2 separate regions of the Homo sapiens genome follow, and region 2 is linked to region 1. Evidence: promoter capture Hi-C in 16 types of primary human blood cells and fetal thymus (Javierre and others, 2016). All regions are on one chromosome and are shown on one strand. The core of a region is centred on a gene start or on the middle of the fragment in contact, and the rest is flanking DNA. Distances in the headings are between cores, read along the strand shown. Region 1 holds the start of CEP104 (centrosomal protein 104). Region 2 overlaps C1orf174 (chromosome 1 open reading frame 174).

Region 1 (5,558 bases), core at 1,003-3,502:
CTCCTGCCCCAGTGGCCAAAAGCTCTCTTTTACGGGAGTCAAACAAGCGCAGACCTTGGCATTCGGCTGGTTCTGAAAGGCAGGACTTTGTGTCCTGAGGCTTCAATACAGATGCCCCGAAAGAACCACCTCTCAAAGCAATTGCCCCCAAACTTGAGCCCTGAGGACAGCATCTTAGCAAACACCAACCGAGAACAATGTGAGAGCATCCCACGAACCACCACCTCGTCCTTCCAGAAGGGTGCTCAGCCCAGCAGAACAGAACAGCATCTCTTCCTGGCTCCACCTTCCCCATGAAACTGTGCAGGCCCCAACCCCAAAGCCCTCCCTCTGCTCTTGGGAATTGCTAGGACACCTCAAATGAACGCAAATAAAATTAAAAGATTTTTTGAAGAAAAAGACGACCAATTGAACAGCTGGGTTCATGAACGAGAGGACTGAGGACTCTGCCACCTAAGCGACGCTGACCAGTTCTGCCTCCAGAGGGCTTCCTCCTTGAGACCCGAGAGTTCACAGTAAGGGGGACTCTTCCCCACCCTGATGGGCACCTGGAGCTAAGCCCCCAGGACCTCGGAGAGTGCCAGCTTCCCGCCCACCTCCAAAGTCCTTGCCACTCACAGCCCTGCCAGGCCTGGCCCAAGGTGAGCAGCACCAGCTCGGCGTTGTCGGGAACACTGGGGAAGTAATCTTCCGTCAGCTCCGTGCCATCCTCGTACAGGCACAGCCGGGAACCGCGCTCAGGGAGCTGCAGGGACGGGAGAAGCAACAGGAGGAGGAAGGGTCTCAAGACGAGGGCTTTGCATCTGCAGGCCTCACAAACGACCGGAATGAGCTGTGCTTAAAGAAGCAGGCTCAGGCTGCCGCCTGTATGCCACAGTCGCTCCAACGCCCAGGCAAGGATGAGGGAGCGGGAGCAAGGGCGCCTGACTGCGGGCCGTTCTAAAATACGAAGAGTCAGGAAAAACATACATCAGGGGGTGACTGCTGGCTCTGCAGGATTCACCCTTTTTAAATGAGCTCCTGAGGGCGCTTCAAATAGAGCCTGTCTTTGACAGCGCCGCCTCCCTGCTGCCAGGAGCTGAACACCACCATCCCCAGCACACAGCCGCCAGAGCGGTGCTGGCACACGAAGGAGAACGGTTGGTTGCCTCTGTGCACAAGTGTGACCGGCACGTGGCACTGTTAATTTGTTGGAGTCCGGTTCCCTGTTACTCTGCACTGGTCAGTTTTAGGCATTTTATGGCTACTCCCACCCCACCCGCACCGACCCCGGCAATGCACACCTGGTAACCCTAGTACTGGTCTAAAAAGAAAACCAACCTAGAATAAGGTGACGATTGCAATCCCCAGCTGCGAGGGCTGGAAGGGGCCTGCAGAGCCCACCTAGCCAAGCCTTTCATGTTACTCAAGGGGAAGCTGAGGCCGGACAGGCAGAGCAGCCGTGACCCCGCGTGCCAGTACCTGGCACTCTACCCGGGTCTCCTAGCTCTGATGCAGGGCTGTCCTGCCCGAGAGGTGGGAAGAGGGAAGGGGTGATCCAGGTCGTCCCCCAACCCCCCTGCGTTCTGAAGCCACGCTCAGGAACCCCAGGCTGCGGGGGCCCGGGGTCCTAGCGGCTGAGGCGAACGAAAACTACCCGCCCCGGGCGCCGCCTGCACCCTCCGTTTTGGAAGAGGAAAAGCGGCACCTCCTATTCTCCCCACACGCCTCCCCGACGGGCCGTCCCCGCCTAGCCCAGCGGGCACCTGGAAGCGGAGACAGCCCTTGCGCAGCACCTCCTGGCAGCTCCGGCCAGCCACGCCGAACTTCCTCGGGCTGCGCAGGGCCCGCAGCTTCACGCTCTTGGGCTTCTGGAGCATTGCAGATGTCCTCAAGCCCTCTGGGTCCCACAGGCGGTGGCACCTGCTGCCCAGCTGCTCAGATCCGTCCTCGCCCTGGCCGCAGGGGTCTGCACCTGGTGAGCTCTGCAAGCTGGCACAGGCCGGGTGCCGATCCCGGAAACTACATTACCCAGAAGGCCTGGGAAAAGTGAGGCCCGACGCGGTCTTGTGCGCAGGCGTCGCCCCACGGACACCACATTACCTTACTCAGAAGGCTCAGGAAAGCAAAGGCGCGACGCCACCTGGTGTGCCCAGGTGCCGTGGCCCCGGAAACTACACAACCCTGAGGGCCAGAGTAGCGGAGCCCTCCCCTTGTGCGCAGGCGCGGCCTGGGGTGGGGCGGGGTCGCGCACGCGCAGAGGCCCTGGCCCAGGGCTGGGCTTGGTTGTCATGAGAGTGGAGGCTGCGGCCGGGGCTATGGGCAGAGGTGGCCGGGTCTGCTTCTTCCCTGTCACTGCCGCAGCAGCTTGGGGTGCAAGGCGGCCTGGGGCGGCGGAAGGGGCGCCCCCCGAGTTCCGTCTGAGGAAGCGGCGGCTGCCGAGGAAGTCCACGAGAGCCGGGTCCCGCACGCCCCTGGGGTCCGGGTGCTGAGGCGCCGCCTGGCCGCCTCCCCGGGCCGCGGCACCGCTCCGACCCAGCCGCCCTCTCCACCGGGGCCGCGGCAGCGCCAGTCGGGGCCCTTCCCTCTAAGCAGGTACCTTCCGGGCCGCTGCGGCGCCGGCCCAGGGCCGGAGTGGGGAGCGGGGCGCGGGGCGCGGGGCGCGGGCGCCGCGGGGGCGCGGTCCCCACCTGGGAGCTGGGTACGAAGCCTGGGTGCGCGGTGCAAGCGCGGACGGTGTGGAGTTAGATGCCGGCCTTGCTGTCGCCGAAGAGCCGGCGCGGCCCCGTCGTGCCGTATGCCGGGGAGCTCAGCACGGGTGCTGGGACCGCCTGCCCCGGCCGGGACGGCCCATTTAGCGTGGAATATTGTTTTCAGATCCGGCTTTTCCTCTTCTGGATGCGTAGCACATAGGGGGCCAGTTTCAGATGTGTTCTGCTGAGCAAAAGTTTGAGGAAAATTGCTCTGTCCCTATAGAGATTAAAGTCTGATGGTTGGTTGTTTTTTGTTTTGGAGTTTGTTTTGTTTTGTTTGCACTTAAGTTCAGATTTCTCTGAAGCCCTTTCAGTCGCTAAGATGACTTGATCAGAAACCCATAAGCCTTTGAGACGGTCTCGCTCTGTCGCCCAGGCTGGAGTGCAATGGCACGATCTCAGCTCACTGCAGCCTCCGCCTCCCGGGTTCAAGCGATTCTCCTGCCTCAGCCTCCCGAGTAGCCCGACTAATTTTTTTATTTTTAGTAGAGACGGGGTTTCACCATGTTGGCCAGGCTGGTCTCGAACTCCTGACCTCAAGTAATACGCCCTCCTCGGCCTCCCGAAGTGCTGGGATTACAGGCATGAGCCACCGCGCGCAGTCACACTTAAAAGTCTTCTTAAAAAGAAAATCAGAGACAAGTTTTGTTTCCTAGTCTTGTAACAAAATGGAAGTTGCTACACTGAGTTTCCGTTTAATTTATAGTTAATTGCCTTTTACCATGCCAGCACTAGGAAAAGTGTAGTGAGGGATGAGACCGCCATGGAGTCATCGCTGCCTGGGGAGAGATGTACTCTGGCATTTGTCGGGATGTCGATGGCTGCCCCTGGGACAACAGGGATCCCTCATGCCTCTGGTGAGGAAGACCAGCCAATAACTGGATGTTCAACAGAGCTTTGCTTCTTCCCAAATTGTTAATGGTGATTTTTATAGAGCCTAAAAGTGGCATCCTTCAGTGACATTCCAAGTATCTTATGTAACACTTGAAGGTTTACACAGAGGGGACCCTAGGGTACAACTGGAAGGTCTTTGGGAGGGGGTAGACTAAAAAAGGAATCCTTTTCAAATACCAGACTGAGGTAATAGCATTGCCTCCACAGTCCCTGTGCATTTCTCTTAGCTGGTTCTTAAATGCCAGTACTTTGTTTTAGATTTGTTGGGGGCAGTATAGCATACTGGAAACACCCTTCTGTTTGACTGAAAAGGTCCTATATTTATGTCTTCGAGCCGTAACAGAGAGTGTTGGTTAGGTTCAGAGACTAGCCAGGCTCGGCGGCTCACGCCTGTAATCCCAACACTTTGGGACACTAAGGTGGGAGGAGTTCAAGACCAGCCTAGACAACACAGTGAAACCCCATCCCTACAAAAAAAAAAAAAAAAAGTAGCTGTGCATGGTGGCATGTGCCTGTAGTCCTAGCTGCTCAGGAGGCTGAGACAAGAGGATCATTTGAGCCCGAGAGTTCATGGTTACAGTGAGCTATGATCACGCCACTGCAGCAGTACAGCCTGGGCAACAGAGCGAGAACCTGTATTAAAAAAAAAAAAAAAAAAAAAATCGGGGCTGGGCTTATTGGCCACGCCTGTAATCCCAACACTTTGGGAGGCTGAGGCGGGTGGATCACCTAAGGTCAGGAGTTCGAGACCAGCCTGGCCAACATGGTGAAACCCCATCTCTACTAAAAATACAAAAATTAGCTGGGTGTGGTGGTGCGCACCTGTAATACTAGCTACTTGGGAGGCTGAGGCGGGAGAATCACTTGAACCCAGGAGGCAGAGGTCGCAGTGAGCCGCGATCACGCCACTGCACTCCAGCCTGGGTGACAGAGTGAGACCCTCTCTCAAAAAAAAAAAAAAAAAAATTTGGAGACTGGAACCCAACAGCCTGGGCACAAGAGGTATTTTCAAGGTGGAATAGGGAGTGACAAGCCCTGCCCTGAAAGATGATGAAAGGGGCCTGGCATGGTGGCTTATGCCTGTAATCCCAGCACTTTGGGAGGCCAAGGCGGGCAGATTGGCCAGGAGTTCGAGACCAGCCTGGCCAACATGGCAAAACCCCGTCTCTACTAAAATACCAAAAAAAAAAAAAAAAAAAAATTAGCCAGGCATGGTGGTGCATGCCTGTAATCCCAGCTACTTGAGAGGCTGAACCACAAGAATCACATGAACCAGGGAGACAGAGGTTACAATGAGCCCAGATCACGCCACTGCACTCCAGCCTGGGTGATAGATTGAGACTCTTGTCTCAAAAAAGGAAAAAAAGCTGATGAAAGGATTGGAGGGCTTCAGAGCTGAAGGGTATTAACTTTGAGCTTTGATTGTTTGGCTGGACTTCAGAATTCAGGACAAGAAGTGAGGGTCAGGGGAGAGTTGGCGCATTGATCCCTAGATGGGGAGCCCACCAAGAGCTCTGGAGTTAGGACATGGATGGAGATGACTGGAGCTGGGCCTGAGGCACGTTCACACAATAGGAACTTAGGACTTGTCTGAGGGAGGCGCTTCAGGTGGGGACACCAGGTGGTTGCTGTCTAGAAAAGACAGTGGGATCAGAAGGAAGGGCAGGCCTGATAAGACCTGGCACACTGTTGGATGGGGAGTGGGTGAAGAGAGATGCTGTGGCCAAGGGAAAAGTACCTCTAGGCTCAGAGCCCATGCGACCCAGAAGTGCCAGGTCACGAAGGAGTGGGAGCCATGGGCTGTGCGTTTCTGGCATAGGTTGCCCAGAGTGCAGGTGGGGCCGTGCAGCTAACAGTGGGTTAAATCACACTCATCCTTTCAAAATTCTTTTTTTGTTTGGTTTTTTAGAAACGGGGTCTCACTCTCTTACC
Region 2 (6,267 bases), core at 2,493-4,992, 38 kb before region 1:
AAGAGAAGGAGGTAGAGGAATAGGCATTTAAACTATATAAGAACATAATTACCTTTACTGGTGCTGTTTTTGTGTGTGTGTGGTTTTGAATTACTGTCTGGGGTCACTTGCTTTCAGCCTGATGAACTTCTTTTAGTGTTTCTTGTAAAGTGAGTTTTGTTGTTGTTGTTGTTGTTGTTGTTGTTGTTGTTGTTTTTGCTTTGAGACCAGAGTCTCACTCTGTTGCCCAGGCTGGAGTGCAGAGGTGTGATCTCGGCCCACTGCAACCTCTGCCTCCCGGGTTCAAGTGATTCTCACCTCAGCCTCTGGAATGGCTGGGATTACAGGAGGCTGCCACTACGCCCGGCTAATTTTTGTGTTTTTACTGGAGACAGGTTTTCACCATGTTGGCGAGGCTGGTCTAAAACTCCTGACCTCAGGTGATCACTGCCTCAGCCTCCCAAAGTGGTGGGATTACAGGCATGAGCCACCATGCCCAGCCCATTTTTGAAGTATAGCTTTGCTGGATATAGGATTCTTGGTTGACAAGTTTATTTGAGCATGTTGAATATGTTTGAATATTCTCCATTGTTTCAGTCAGTTCATTTATTGAGGTTCCCTTCTAAGTGGCTTTCTTCTTGGGGCTTTCAAGGTTTTGTTCTCTTTCAAGATTTTGCCTTTGATCTTTGTATTTTTACAGTGATGTGTCTGTGGATCTCTTTGCATGTATCCTATTTGGAGTTCTGTTCATTAAGATTCCTGGATATGGGGCCAGGCACGGTGGCTCACGCCTGTAATCCCAGCACTTTGGGAGGCTGAGGCAGGCGGATCACAAGGTCAGGAGATTGATACCATCCTGGCTAACACAGTGAAACCCTATCTCTACTAAAAATACAAAAAATTAGCGGGGCGTGGTGGCGGGCGCCTGTAGTTCCAGCTACTTGGGAGGCTGAGGCGGGAGAATGGCATGAACCTGGGGGGCGGAGCTTGCAGTGAGCCAAGATTATGCCACTGTACTCCAGCCTGGGCGATAGAGTGAGACTCCGTCTCAAAAAAAAAAGATTCCTGGATATATAGGTTAATGTTTTTCTGTAAATTTGAGAAGTTCTCAGCCATTATTTCTTCAAATATTTTTTCTGCTCCTTTCTCTCTGCATTCCTGGTGGTTCTTATTTTGTGTATGTTAGTGCACTTAATGATGTCCAGCATTTCTCTGCAGCTTGCTTTATTTTTCTTCGTTCTTTTTTTCTCTGTGTTCTTCAGCATGCATAATCTATCGATCTGTCTTCAAGTTTGCTTATCCTGCCAGTTCAGTTCTACTATTAAGCCCTTCTAGTGAATTTTGTTATTTCAGGTTTTGTACTTTTCTACTCCAGAATTTCCATTTGGTTTTTAAGTAATTTATCTTTATTGATAGTCTCTTTGATGCAGCATTATCTTATGTTTCTTCTTTATTCATGATCTTGATATTGTTTATCATGGCTACCTTGGTCCTTTATATATGTATAAATCCAACATCTGGTCACTCTCACAGACAGCTTCTGTGGCCTGCTTTTATTCCAGTGTATGAGCCTACTTTTCTTTTTCTTTGAGTGCTTCATAATTTTTTGTTGGAATTATGCCTTCATAATTTTTTTGACATTTTAGATAATACATTTTAGCAATTCTGGGTACTGTCCCCAACCCTGGGGCTTGTCATTGTTAATATGCTTATTTGTTTAGCAACTGGGTAGATTGTTTTGATAAAGTATATTTCCCCTGCCACAGTGTTCAGCCTGTGATGTTGCTGGTGGGGGGTGGCACCCAGCCACTCTGGATGACAGTGGTTTTAGTGAGGTCCTTTTCCTCTTTCCCTGACCACATCCAGCTGTTGAACTTCGCTAATGCCAGGTTATTGTGCTGTTCTCAGCAACAGCCTGGGCATAAGTTGCTCTACAAACTAATCCAATCAAATTGTGGCTTCTTCGAAGGGATACTTTCTAAGGTCAGTGTTTGGTTAGTTTGTTCTGTGTCCAAGAGGCCTCCTCCCAGCCGTGTTAGTCTCTGGTTCTCTTCTGCGAACTGGTTGGCCTACAATTTGGCCTATTGCTTGATTCTCCACTGCCTCCACCCCCTTCGTCACAGCATCCACGGTACTTGAACAGCTCCCTTAGGCCGGAACTTCTCCACATTCCATGGCAGGGAATTTGGTGCCTTTGGGCAGGTGTAAGAGCTGTCTGTTTAGTTGCCTGCCTCTCATCCCAGGCAGAGCCTCTGAGCCAGGGCCTGCAGCTGAGGACAGTAATGGGCTCCTCTCTGAATAGGGGCTGGGGGAGCTAGCAGCAGCCTGAGATCCTCCAAATGTGTCTTCCCCAGCCTGGAACCACCTCATATCTAGGACGGGGTTGATGGGGCCCCAGTCTTCTCCGTTCACTGGGCGGAGCCTCTTGCAGAGGCTTAAACCGTACTGGTAGAATGGAGCCAAGGTGAAGCCTTCATTCTACAAATAGGGTCTGAGCAGAAAGGAGGGCCCCTCTTCTCAATCCTACTCACTCAGGACCTGGTCTCAGTCACAGGTGGGATGAGAGCAGAAAGGGAAGCACTGCTATCCTGCCTCTCCTGGGAAGACACCCCGCTGCCTGGGAGCTGGGGAGGTGGCCCTGTGTTCTTGGCTGCAGCAGGATGGAGCTCAAGTGCCACAGACTCTCCGTGTCCTTACCAAATGTATGTAGGTGTTCTGGAGCAAGTGTTTCTTCATTTGCTGGGTGCCCATAGGACCATTTCCAAAGGCTCTCTAAATGGCTGTTTTGGGACTGCTCATTACTCTCTGAGAAGGTCAGTGAAGCTCCTCGAGCCATCATGTTGAAGTCAGTCTCGGCCAGCCCTTTTGGAGAAACCATGTTTGTGCTTCTGACATACCAGTTATTAAACAATCTACTGGAATGAGGAGAATCTCAATGATGAGAAAGTCTTTCCTTTTTTGGACTGTGGGAGCAGTCCAAGCTGCCCAGCTGCAGAGCAGGAATCTGCAAGTGAGACTGTGACCAATTCTTGACATTTTGGAGTTGACACCTTGGAGGTGGTTAATCCATGACGAAACTGAAGCTAAGCCGATCTCATGTTTTGACTCCTGTCAATCCGGAGAGGACAGCAAATGGCCTGCTCAGGTGTCTGTTAACAGCCAGCGCTTCCAGGCCCACCAGATCCTCAGGTGTCTGTTAACAGCCAGCGCTTCCAGCCCAGCAGATCATCTGGCTTTTCTCTGCAGAAGGGGCCAAAAGGTCCACCTGATGAACCTGTTGCACGCGAAAAGTTCAGAACCACTGCTGCCAAGATGCTGACAGAAGCCTTGAGAAGCACCTGCTGCGGGAAAAGACGTGCAGGCGTAGAACACAGAGCGGGTGGCAGCTTCTTCAGTTCAATCCCCACCTCAGGCAGTTGTTGGGGGTCATATCTAGGGTGAGCTGTGGTGATGGAATAGAGATTTGGAAGCCAGGCATCACTCGTATAACCTCATAAGCTCCTTACCCAAGTTGTCCTCATCTGAAATGGGTGTGCCACTCCTTTAAAGCTGTTCAGGCACCGAGCTGGGCTCCCCACACAGCATACTCCAGCACAGAGCAGCAAAGCGCCCGGAGGAGGGCTCACAGCAGGGAGGAGAGGTGGGGCAGTGGCTTTCTAGGTCAGAGATGTCTTTTCCCTACGAGGCACGTGATGGCGTTTTAGGGAGATGGGCTTGTTTAAGACCCAGTGGGAGGATTTTGATGAGAGATGTTTATGGCAACTCTTAGCAAGTTCTGTAACCTCTGTTGCCTCAGTCCCCTTGGTGTAACTGTGACCATGACGTCTGCCGGGGCTCTCAGCAAAGCCCTGCCCTTGTGAGAGGACGGAGGCGCAGCCCCCGGTGTGCTGTGGTAGCAGGCACTTCACCCAGCCTGTGGGCAACTGGCGTGTCCTGTGTACAGCAGGCGGGCGTCCTGGCCTCCGGTGGGCTGCTGCCTGCTCTTCTCCCTCCTGTTTCAGACACACACTCTGACTGCCACAGTATCACAGGACCTTGGAGCTGCCACCCCACAGGGTTTCTGGAGCTGTCTTGGGCTACGGGGTGCATGGCTGAGACAGATTATTTCTTTTTTTTTTTTTTTTTGAGACGGAGTCTTGCTCTGTCACCCAGGCTGGAGTGCGGTGGCGCAATCTCGGCTCACTGCAAGCTCCGCCTCCTGGGTTCACGCCATTCTCCTGCCTCAGCCTCCCAAGTAGCTGGGACTACAGGCGCCCACCACCACGCCCGGCTAATTTTTTGTATTTTTAGTAGAGACGGGGTTTCACTGTGTTAGCCGGGATGGTCTCGATCTCCTGACCTTGTGATCCACCTGCCTCAGCCTCCCAAAGTGCTGGGATTACAGCCGTGAGCCACCGCGCCCAGCCGAGACAGATTATTTCTGTGTTTTATTTTTTTGTTTTTTTCCTTTTTTTATTTCTCTTATCTGCTGTTGGGCAGGGCACTCTTCATCCGTCCCCTTCTGGGTTCCAGTTCTAGGGCCTGTTGGCAGCAGCTCTTGGGCCTTTCCCGGCCATGTCAACCTGCATTGCTCCTGTTTGTTGCTTCTACTACTCACACTCATTCCTTTCGAGTTTTCTAAGTGCAGTGTGGTATTGTGGACTGGATTCTGGAACAGAAAAACGGTTCATGGAGAAACCGATAAAATACAAATAAAATCTATAGTTTAGTGAAGAGTACCGTAATGTCACTAATTTCTTAATGTTGACAATGTCCTGTAGTTGTTTAACATTAGTGGAAGCTGAGTGAAGGCTACATGGCAACTCCCTGTACTATTTTATTATTATTATTTTTTCAGAGACACTGTCTCACTCTGTCACCCAGGTGGAGTGCAGTGGTGCAGTCATAGCTCACTACAGCCTCAGACTCCTGGGATCAAGTGATCCTCTCACCTCAGCCTCCCACATAGCTGGGACTACAGGTGCACACCACCACACCTGGCTAATTTTTAAAAAAATTTTTTAAAGATGGGCTTTCGCTGTATTGCCCAGGCTGGTCTTGAACTCCTGGGCTCGAGCGATCCTCCTACCTCAGCTTCCCAAGTAGCTGGGATTACAGGTGTGAGCTATCACACCAGTTTCTTTGTACTATTTTTTGCAACTTTCTGAATGCCGAAAATTATTCCTAAATAGTTATTTTAAATGTTATGTCTTTAATTAATTTCTTTCTTGTTATTAGAGGAGTTTGCTTTGCATTCAGGATAAAAGAGAGGTGGACCAGTTTGTTAATATTAAAATTTGTGAGACAGTCGCTAGCTGCATTCAGCTAATAGAATAGGAGTCTAATTTGAGGAAGAGAAACTTTGGTTTCCTCATGTTACCTTTTTTTAAAAACTTTGACAACGTATGAAAGTTGGAGAGCCTTCTAAGGAAGGGCATGTGCTGCTTATTCTAAACACTTTGAAGTTGACTTAATTTCCACTAAAGGACAAATGGTGGCTACTAGAAATATACAAGATAAGGGGGACAGATCGTCCCAAGCCTCCAAAATCGTGGAAATAGTAGATCCTGTATCCTAAATCCAGGCACAGTTTCATTTGGATTTACACATTCGGGCCACAGCTGTCTCCACAAAGATGATAAAATCCTGGGAGTGGGAGGGGCGGTCTTCGGGTGTTCTTTAGGTGGGAAATTCTCGTCTACATGTTCATGCTGCCTTCCTGAGAGCACTCTCTGAGTGGCTCTCAATCTCTCTAGCTCACAGGTGCAGTGCGGTCTTCAGCGCGCTTGAAAGCACGAAGTTGTTCGGCAGCCAGGTTGGCCTCTGCCCAGGAAGTTGCTGGTTCCACGTCTGCCAAGACAGCATGTCTGGTGAGCCCTGTTACCGTGGAGAACGCCAAGATCCTGACTCGAGGGTCCATTTTTATACAAAATTGCCACTCCAAGATGTGTTGCTTTAGAAAAATATCGACTGTTACTTATCTGCCAGAGGGGGACTATTGCAGATGAAAAGGTGACAGCACTGTAATTGCCTTCAGAGAAAGACACACTCTGCAGGCCAGGGCTGGCTCTCCTAGCACCCGCCCACCCGTGTGTGTGTCTAGACCCGGGCTCTGATCCTAGCACCCGCCCACCCGTGTGTGTGTCTAGACCCGGGCCCTGATCCTAGCACCCGCCCACCCGTGTGTGTGTCTAGACCCGGGCCCTGATCCTAGCACCCTCCCACCCGTGTGTGTGTCTAGACCCGGGCCCTGATCCTAGCACCCTCCCACCCGTGTGTGTGTCTAGACCCGGGCCCTGATCCTAGCAC

Evidence for each region. Contacts are between HindIII fragments. The CHiCAGO score rates a contact against its expected background, and 5 or more counts as called.
Region 2: a contact is called between a fragment that was not itself captured here and the fragment with the promoter of CEP104 in region 1, in 1 of 17 cell types (megakaryocytes). The highest score is 5.8, in megakaryocytes.

The regions. Positions count from the first base shown.
Region 1 is chr1:3,853,905-3,859,462 of GRCh38, reverse strand. CEP104 (centrosomal protein 104) reads left to right here and starts at 2,252. Exons shown (of 22, transcript NM_014704.4): 1 at 2,252-2,574. DFFB (DNA fragmentation factor subunit beta) reads right to left here and starts at 1,987. Exons shown (of 7, transcript NM_004402.4): 1 at 1,746-1,987; 2 at 619-745. The coding sequence starts at 1,859. RefSeq lists silencers at 1,106-1,155, 2,086-2,585 and an enhancer at 1,766-1,945. The HindIII fragment of the contact is 29,508 bases long and covers 1-5,558 here.
Region 2 is chr1:3,892,444-3,898,710 of GRCh38, reverse strand. C1orf174 (chromosome 1 open reading frame 174) reads left to right here. Exons shown (of 4, transcript NM_207356.3): 2 at 5,715-5,828. Among named protein-coding and RNA genes, the nearest start is that of C1orf174, 4.7 kb to the left of the region's middle. The HindIII fragment of the contact is 8,006 bases long and covers 1-6,267 here.